Regions from separate parts of the Homo sapiens genome. Here regions 1 and 3 are each linked to region 2. The links are contacts of gene promoters, found by promoter capture Hi-C in blood cells and fetal thymus (Javierre and others, 2016). All regions are on one chromosome and are shown on one strand. The core of a region is centred on a gene start or on the middle of the fragment in contact, and the rest is flanking DNA. Distances in the headings are between cores, read along the strand shown.

The links. The method cuts DNA at HindIII sites, captures the fragments that hold promoters and counts their contacts. A CHiCAGO score of 5 or more calls a contact.
Region 1: the fragment with the promoter of C21orf140 here is called in contact with the fragment with the promoter of ATP5PO in region 2 in 8 of 17 cell types (naive B cells, total B cells, naive CD8 T cells and 5 more); the score reaches 11.7 in naive B cells.
Region 3: the fragment with the promoter of TMEM50B here is called in contact with the fragment with the promoter of ATP5PO in region 2 in 1 of 17 cell types (fetal thymus); the score reaches 6.6 in fetal thymus.

Annotation. Positions count from the first base shown.
Region 1 is chr21:34,399,470-34,402,825 of GRCh38, reverse strand. It overlaps C21orf140 (chromosome 21 open reading frame 140), which reads left to right and starts at 1,754. Exons shown (of 1, transcript NM_001282537.2): 1 at 1,754-2,714. The coding sequence starts at 1,754. The coding sequence ends at 2,509. The HindIII fragment of the contact is 9,278 bases long and covers 1,730-3,356 here.
Region 2 is chr21:33,914,554-33,917,587 of GRCh38, reverse strand. ATP5PO (ATP synthase peripheral stalk subunit OSCP) reads left to right here and starts at 1,784. Exons shown (of 7, transcript NM_001697.3): 1 at 1,784-1,860. The coding sequence starts at 1,825. RefSeq lists enhancers at 1,603-2,212, 2,727-3,034. The HindIII fragment of the contact is 2,999 bases long and covers 133-3,034 here.
Region 3 is chr21:33,478,141-33,481,226 of GRCh38, reverse strand. It overlaps TMEM50B (transmembrane protein 50B), which reads left to right and starts at 1,253. Exons shown (of 7, transcript NM_006134.7): 1 at 1,253-1,389. The HindIII fragment of the contact is 5,416 bases long and covers 1-3,086 here.

The sequences.
Region 1 (3,356 bases), core at 505-3,004, 490 kb before region 2:
TAATGTAAAAATGTTGACATTTTCCAAAATGAAAACTGTAAAACAAGATACATTTGGAGAAGTCTAGAGTGTTTGCTTTATTCATGTTGTTTATGCGTTAAAATATAAGCATATTGCATACATAAGCATATTTACACCCACATCTAAAAGATAACATATTATATATACTTTTCCATACTTCTGAACAAGCGTCTCATATCCATAACTAAAAATTAGATGAGAAAGGCAAAGAACTCTTGTCTTCGAATTGACTTCATTGCACTATATAGCATTTCACACTGCGGTTCCAGGCCACAGGGTCCCTTGGGTAGGGGGAGACAAAGGGTGTGGCTGACAGGGAGACTCTAGGACTACCATTGCCACTTCCACCAGAGCAGCCACACTTCTGTTCCACATAGTTGGCATCCAAATTTGATTTGAAAAACAGTTTCCACTACTAAAAGAAAAATCCTATGAGAAAATGACCACAAGCCAATTATCCACTCAAACCTGCTGATCCTGGCCTCTGGGAGAGGCTGTTTGGAGACCACATATTTCATATTAACTTTACCATGATGAGATTATCTTACTGTCTGGGGTCATCCAAACTTGAGCTCCAAGAAAACCCCTGTGTGAGGGAAAAAAAAAAAAAATCCTCCTCCATTCAACAGTAGAGCAAAGGACCTGACCAATCATTTTGTCCACGTCTTCATTTGAAGGAATCCTTCATGCCCATTTTATGAAATGTCTTTAGCTCTGATTAAAGAGGCAAGAAAATACAAAGGAAGAGATGGTTAGAGTTTGAAGCAAACTGTCATTTTGCCTGAGTATATAAAATTAAAAGTGCTTTCAAGATGAGGTATTGAATTAGTTCAATAACTGCAAGCTCCGGGTGGGCGCAGTGGCTCACATCTGTAATCCCAGCACTTTGGGAGGCCGAGGCGGGCGGATCACAAGGTCAGGAGATCGAGACCATCCTGACTAACACGGTGAAACCCCATCTCTACTAAAAATACAAATAATTAGCCGGCCATGGTGGAAGGTGCCTGTAGTCCCAGCTACTCGGGAGGCTGAGGCAGGAGAATCACTTGAACCCGGGAGGCGGAAGTTGCAGTGAGCCGAGATCGTGCCACTGCACTCCAGCCTGGGCAACAGAGAGAGACTCCCTCTCAGAAAAAAAAAAAAAAAAAAAAAAAAAAAAAGACCTGCAAGCGCCAGTGGAAGCTAGGTGTGCAGACTGACTTTCTTTTGCAATTTGCCATACCTTCCTTCTGCCACCTGGAAAAAATCACTCTTAGTTGTGCAAATGGGAAGGCAACTGGCACAAATTCTATGCATACACAGACACACAACACGTAAGTCCAGGACTCCCTGGGTGTGTCATGACTATACCCCTGGTGCCTGGCACAATGCCTGGTGTACAGCAGGTGATCAGTACATATTTTTGAAATGGATGAATGAATGTAAACATTTCTCCCCATCTTAAGCCAAATGGGTAGGCTCATTACTATTAAAAGATTGCCAACCTCTGTCTCAGACCTATTGCAGAAGTGATGTCAAAGTAGCATTTTTATGGGTAGCATCTGCAATTCCCATATTTTATGGGTCAGCAGGGAGTTGTTCTGAGTATTTATTCCATGATGCTTGAAATCTGAAGTGTATGTGTGGGACTGGCACCACTGTAAGAAAGCCCTTTATGAGGTCATCATCCCCCACTTGCCATCTCTCCCCAGATGCAGATGTGCAAGCTTTTAAAAACACTTGAGAAGCCACCATGCCTCGCTTTGCAAGCCCTCTTTTAAGAAATGTCATTATCAGAAGTCAATTTGATGGCATCAAGAGGAAGCAATGCCTCCAATATCTGAAAACCCTGAGAACACTGCAATATGATGGATTTAAGACCGTATATTTTGGGGAAACCAATATCCCAGAAAGTCTCGTAACTGGGGAAGATATTAGTGATGGATATTTCATACAAACCCCAACTTGGTGTATTGTGCATGCTGCGGGTAGTCAAGGATGGGTGCCTTGGAAATATCGGGTGTTCCTAAGAGACGAGCTGTGTATCAAACAAGAAGACAGCCTCTTCTCTGAGTTCTGTGATGTGGTGAGGAAGGCCTATGGAAAGTGTGTCATCGTGGTCAAAGAGAGAAGGCAGCAGGAAGAGCAGAGGCCAAAGGAAGACAGAGAGGCTGAGGGCCAGTTCTATATCCCTACAGTCATTAGCTTAGCAAGCATTATGTGTTGCCCAGAGGTGGCCAAGTCCTGTGGCCATGAACTACTCTCTCTGCCTTCCCCTTGTAATTATCTGAACCCTTTAGACTCAGCCTGGTCTTCTCTGAAATGGTTTATCATCAATAACAGAAACGAGTTTTGTTTGCAGTCCATTGACAGTGGCTATTCTTACCAATGTATACTTTTCAGCAATTTAATTAGCAAAGGAATTGAAAGGATAAACGCAAGCAAGTGGAGAACATTAACTAGCAAAGTACGGAGATGGGAAAACTACTATCTTGGGAAATTTTCTTAAGGGTGGTTCCTCCAACAAGCAGTGAGGCTGCTACATGTCTGGTCTTTACCGTCAACTCTGTTGAGATGAATTCCACACCACTGCAGCCAAAGATACTTCAACAGCGACCTCACATGGGGTGCTGCGAGAACTGGGTTGCTCCTAAGGATGTTGGCAAAGCGCTTTGAGTTTACTAGAAGTTTCATTAAAATTTGTTGGTAAGTTAGGGGTCTCGACTCTTATCTTGTGAAGGCTACTTTGAGGGCTTTGTCAAGGGGAGGATTAGGTCTAACCCAGCCCAAAGGTGGATGGCAATAAGCAGGGGTGAGCAGGCTGAAAGTTGAGTGGTCGAAATTTAGGTCTGAGAAAAAAAGAGAACCAGTGTGCAGTCATCCCCCAAAAAGCCCAAATTAAATAGTGTGCCAAGTTTCCACCCACCAAAGTAATCCACAGGGATCCAGCTTGCCATGGGCGAGATATTGTCCAGATGGTCGCCAAGCAAGACTCCCTCCTCCCGATTGTCCTTCCTTCCTTGTCGGCAAAGTGGTGGAGGATGAGTGAGAGGCAGCCGCAGAGGGGAAACTCCATCCGGACCCTCCAAGGGGAGTAGGTGGTCCCAGTTAGGACCTGGAAAGTTATGACAGTGGTGGGTTCAAGTGGGCTATGGTGGGCAAAGGGGTGGCACGCATGGGGGTCTGCAGAGACCACTTATCCAGCCAATCTCCCCGCCAACTCCAGGAATTCCAGCAGGTCATTAGACTGTGCCGTGGAGTTTCATCTCGAGACCCTGTAGCTGAGCCACTTGCAGCTGGGACAACACCTCCCTATTTAGGTTTGGGGCTGCTGCCGATGTCTGTTGTAAGAATCT
Region 2 (3,034 bases), core at 535-3,034:
GAAACAAGACACCAAAATATTTACAACAATTGCCTCCGAGTGGAAGAAAAGAGGACAATTACTTTCTTTATCTTTCTCTACGTTTTAAAAAGTTTTTAGGGGGTTGGGTGTGGTGGCTCACACCTCTAAGCTTTGGGAGGCTGAGGCAGGCGGATCGCTTGAGGTCAGGAGTTCAAGACCAGCCTGGCCAACATGGCAAAACCCCATCTCTACTAAAAAGAGAAAAATTAGCCGGGTGTGGTTGTGTACACCTGCAGTCCCAGCTACTCGGGAGGCTGAGGCAGGAGAACCGCTTGAACTCAGGAGGCAGAGGTTGTAGTGAGCTGAGATCACGCCACTGCACTCCAGCCTGGGTGACAAAGCGAGACTCTGTCTCAAAAAATAAAAATTGTAATAATGAGAAAACTGCTCTCTAAAAGGGCAAAATAGTGAATTAACGTGTTTCTATAATAAATCTGAGCAGAGAATTTTTCTTTTAAGTTGATTACAGAACCCCCACTATTACAACCAGGAATACTGACCCTTGCTCTGCCAGCCAGTCTCTTCTCTGACAGAGGAGAAAATTCGACCAAGTTCTATTTAGAGAGAATGGGTTGAAGATAGGTTGTTTTTATGGATGCAGACAAACTATATCCAAGGCTAGTACCCAGTTCTCAGTTTCAATATCAAATTTGCTCAAACCCGGGTTCTCCTATTTTAGGCCTGATGCTCAGATAGCCACTCTGCCCTAGCCAGAATCAAGAATCTAGGTACCAGAATCCCATATGCCCTCACAAACCAACAGCTCAGTTCTATACTCAGGTGAGATGGGGGAGAGGGGAGGGGAATGGAGGGCCACAGGGATTCTTTGCTTTTGCTTGGCCAAACTTTAGTGAGACTTCTGAACCTTCTCGTAGTCCTATCTATGCACCTCCTTGTAAAGTCCAGTTTTAGCAAAACTGCTAAGTCAGTTTAGCCAGAACCCCCAATCTTCGACAACCGATCATCTTTGATATCTGATCAGGGTCTTCATCCTTCACCATCCCCCAGGTGATGTCTGATCACCCTGGCCTGTCTTCTACAAGATTCCTCTAGGTCATTTTAGCCAGAATCCCTCTTACCCCAGTTTCCTCTAAGTAATTTTCTATCCACTGACCCCCGCACTGCTCCTTGGCCATAAATTCCCATTTGCCCATTCTGCTTTCGGAGTTGAGCCCAATCTCTCTGCCCACTCCCAGACCCTGTTGCACTGGTCCTATACCCATCGCTATGGTCCTGAATAAAGTCTTCCTTATCATGCTTTAATAAGCATCACTGAATAATTCTTTATTTAACAATGGGTAGTCATGGCCCAGGTAAGAGAGACGTGGTGTCCGCTCCTGGAGCTGCAAGGCTCCTGGGGGCTTTTTGTTTTGTTTTGGTTTTGTCTTTGTATGCAACGTGAGAAAAAGCCATTGATGCAGGCTTTAGCATGCTGGGAAGGAAGTGTAAAGAAGCCAGTGACGCTGGTAATAACTGTGAAATGGAACAAATGCCACCATATTTATCTAAATGTAAATTTTAAAACTGGGGACAGCAAATCCATTCTACAGTGAGCGCCGCTTGGCCAGTAACAATGACTTCATTTTCAGATGCAGTCGAAGCCCTGTGGCTCCACCCCGAGGGTCCAGCCCTTACCACTGCTAAGAACTACAACTCCCAGCCCGAGGGAGGTCTCTGCGCCTGCGGCCTGACGCCCTACGCCTACACTTCCCAGAGAACCTAGCGGTTACGCCAACGCGCGCGTGCGCCCTTGCGCGTTTCTCTCTTCCCACTCGGGTTTGACCTACAGCCGCCCGGGAGAAGATGGCTGCCCCAGCAGTGTCCGGGCTCTCCCGGCAGGTGAGAGAAAGGTGGTCCTGAGAGCCAGTGGGAGGATCCCTCCTGGGATGACCGGTACCAAACCTCGAGCACCAGGGTGCGATGCTTCGGCTGGGGAAGTCTGGCAGTCTTCAAGGTTATGGGACCTGGCGAGTGGGAGCGACTCAGGACGACCCAGCGTTTGTCCCCCGGGATGCCTACGGGGCAGTAGGCGCGGGGCTGCGCGTGCCGTAACCTTGGCGTCTTCCGAGCACAGCCCCTGGAAGCTGCTAGCCTGAGGGGCGCAGGAGAGGGGGTCTGCCCTTCGCTGAATTCCGGGGAAGGGGCATGGACTAGCCCCCAAATCAGCTTCCTTTGCCATTGTGGTAAAACCTGTCAGAGATCACTTACTAGTAATGCTAAGGAATATTTGTAAAACACATTTCACAGTTTTATAAATAAAATGAGGCCGAAAAGTTTAAATGAGTCTTTGGCTGCTCAGTCAGTAAGTGGTAGAATTGAGATTTGAACCCACGGAATCACCCAGAAGATCGAGTTTGAAAAAATGTTATGCTGTTTGTGCTGCATCTCACCATGGTGCTTTACATATCATGACCCCTTCCTGGCATCTTAGGTAATTTTTTCATAAGCATTAAAAAGTCTTAATCCTCACAAGCAGTTTTGATAAAACACGTTCCATAGCTGGAGTATTTGAAGGTGACCTGTGATCTGTGACCTGTGCGCTTGCAGGTGATTTTTAAACTGTGTATTCCAGCTCTGTCTTTTGATGGGCAGGATAGTGTCTCTCAGAACTAAGGCTTCTTGTCAGATCAAACTCTGCGGCAGTACTCAAAAAATTCATCTTTATTTTCAGATAGCATTTGCATTCCGAGGAGGGTACGTCTGTTGCAAATGATCTGCTCAAGGGTCTGTTAATAGAAACGCCAAAATTTTGGTTAAATATTTTTGAAACATGCACTCCTTGGAAGTTAGTGTTTTTCTGTCTTACGGGTATGCTAGCCTCGGTCCATTCCTAGCAAACTAGGAGGTTCGTGGGAAGGTGATTTCCCAAGCAACTTGGCATAATCCTCATTGGGTAAGTTTACCCCTTAGTAATAGTAAGTAGCTCACCCTCATGTAATATGTGAATATACAAAGAGACAAAAGTAATGATTTTAAGGTTATTTAAAATTTTTTGTTGTTATTGAGTTAAATG
Region 3 (3,086 bases), core at 4-2,503, 440 kb after region 2:
CCCATGTATAAGAGCTATAGGAGAACATTATCCAGGATGGCATTTTTGGTGATAATTCCATGATACAAAACCTTTTACTTCATTATGCCTCAAGTAAAATGCTTTTTAGATTTCCACTGATAATAACTCTACTTGGCTGGGCACAGTGGCCCACGCTTGTAATCCCAGCATTTTGGGAGGCAGAGGCGGGTGGATCACCTGAGGTCAGGAGTTCAGGATCAGCCAGGTGAAATCCCGTCTCTACTAAAAATACACAAATTAGCCAAGCATGGTGGTGCGCACCTGTAATCCCAGCTACTCGGAAGGCTGAGGTGGGAGGATTGATTGAGCGTGGGAGGTAAGAGGCTGCAGTGAGCCAAGATCACACCACTGCACTCCACCCTGGACAACAGAGCAAGACCCTGTCTCAAAACAAACAAACAAACCACCCAAAAAACAAAGCTCGACTTTCCCCCAAACAACTAAATGGTTATAGGCATTTCTGTAGGAAATTTAGACGGGGCTTCCAAACGCTGTTAAAGTTATGTTGAAAATCCAAGAGGCTGAAAGATATCTGACTATAAGAAAGACGAAAAAAAAAAAAAAAGACAAAAATCTACGTGAATAGACGGGAGAGCGCCGAGCGAAATCAGAAGACTAGTTGTATTGTGAGGATCACCTCGGGTAACCAGCACTCGCTGGGTAGCCCTGGTTTACTAACTTCAACTTTCTGGGGCTCCATTTCTGAATTGAGGGGATTAGAAAAAGGCATCTCTAAAGACCCTCCGTTCCCGAGAACCCTCCCGGAGCACCTTCCCTACTCTGGGCAGCTCGCAGACAGACAAGACTGATCGGCCATAGGCGAAGGGAAACCCTGGTCCCCCGGGTCTCGAGCTCCGTCCGCACGTAATCTCACGGTACTGCACTTCAAGTCAGCGTGCAGAAACGCAGCAGTGGGAGCCCGGCGGCGGCCGCCCACCGGCAGGGGACAGGAGAGGCCCGTCCCGCTCTGCCCGGAACCGTAGATAGCTGGGTCTGAACTCCGGCTCCGGGAGGCCTGCAGAGCAGCCCACCCCGTCCCTCGGAGCTCGCCCTGCCCCCGGCCGGCCACTTGCTGCACGCCGATTGGTCGCGAGGAGCGCCCGGCGTCCCGCTGCGCCCAGCCAACGCCCTCTCCCCGCCCCCTCGCGTCCCGCCCCGCCCCCGGCCGGCCACTTGCTGCGCTCCGATTGGTCGCTGCGGTGCACACGGCGCCTCGCCCCGCCTCACCGGCGCTCTATCCTCGCGTCTGCTCCCAGCTCCGGGCTCCCGGGGCTGAGGTGGAGCCGCGGGACGCCGGCAGGGTTGTGGCGCAGCAGTCTCCTTCCTGCGCGCGCGCCTGAAGTCGGCGTGGGCGTTTGAGGAAGCTGGGTGAGTCCTGTCTGTGGGTCTCCGGCGCCAGGCAACCGTAGAGGGCTCGCGCCCGCCGCCCGCGCGTAAGGAGGCTCCCTCGTCGGGCCCTGTCCGGCCCGGCCTTCTGGGGGCTGTGGGGCCGTCCAGCCGGGTTTTCCCTGCGTTCGGCGCCGGCCTGCAGACTCGGGCCCGCGGAGCCCCCGCCGCCCCTTCTTGCCCCTGCCCGCGTCCCTTCGGGCCGACCGTGACCGTGGCGCCGCCGCGACCCGCAAGCAGCCCGGGGAGGCTGCCCTGCCGCGCTGTCACGCCGTCAGGTTGCGTTCCTGGGGAGGGCTGGAGAGGCTCCATCTCGTGCCTTTCACCTTCTCGCGCGGCGGGCACGGAGGCGACGGTTTTCGGGACGCCCTGCTGCGGCCGCGACGCCCTCCCGAGGCCGGAGCGAGGGCCCCGGGGCGGCTCCAGCCCTTCTTCGCCCCTCCCGTTTGCCCCGAACCATTGCTAGGAGCCTGTGTTTTCTGCACTTTTCTGATTTCATTCTTACGAGAGTCAAGTACAGAGGCGGGAGGGGAAAGGGAAGGGGAACAACATTCTTTCGAGAATTATAAACCTTGAGCTCCGTTAAATAAGTAGCAGCAGAGCATTGTCACTGGAGCAGTGGTAGTCGCGGGTAGGACCGTTTCGGTTTTTAGCCAATAGGCTGGTTAAAGGTACTTAAAACAGTAAGTTGGAAGGTGCTGAAATTCTAAGGTAAATACGTGACCTTTCAAAACCAAAGCAGTGAGACGGGCTAGGCTGGGCTGCTCCCCGCTGCGCGTGCCTGGGTCGGGGGGTGCGGAGGGGCAGGGGGCGGAGGCCTCGGACGGGACGGGGTGGGAGGGAAGTGGCATCCGCATCGTCTTACATCGCGCTGTAAGACCCGATTTTCTCTTTTCGGAGGATCCCATCTCCCTTCTCAGACTCTTCATCCTACCTGCACTGTGGATCCCTTGACACTTCAGAGGCTCTGAACTCTCAGGCCGGTCACACTTTTTCATCATTTTGTTTCTTGTCTTTTAAACCTGCATGCATTTCAAACGTAGAGCAAACATTAAACTTTTTTTTTAAACTGAAGATAGTGGTGCAAGACTTTGTTATTGAAATGCAAACCAAAAGTTATCTTGAATATTTATCGCGCTGGAAAAGCAGGTTTAATTAGAGTGAGGTGGGGACGTATATTTCTTCTTCCGGAGACACAGCCTTCCCACTCACCACCCCAATCCCTCCTCTCTGTCAACTAGGGTTACAGCAGCCTTACACTGGCTAGTCTTTTCTGAATTCTGAATTCACTTCTGGGGGCCAAGGTAAAGAATTTATCGTATTTTATCCTCATTTTCCTTTTCTGTTTTTTTTGAGACAGAGTCTCCCTCGTTGACCAGGCTACAAGTACAGTGGCCCGATCTCTGCTCACTGCAGCCTGCACCTCTAGGGTTAAAGGGATTTTACAGCCTCAGCCTCCCGAGTAGCTGGGATCACAGGCGCCTGCCACCATGCCTGGCTAATTTTTATATTCTTAGTAGAGAGAGAGTTTCACCATGTTGGCCAGGCTGGTCTTGAACTCCTGACCTCAAGTGATCCGCTTGCCTCGGTCTCTGAAAGTACTGGGATTACAGGTGTGGGCACCGCGCCTGGCCTTTTAAAGTGTATTATTATTATTTTTAAATTTATTTATTTATTTA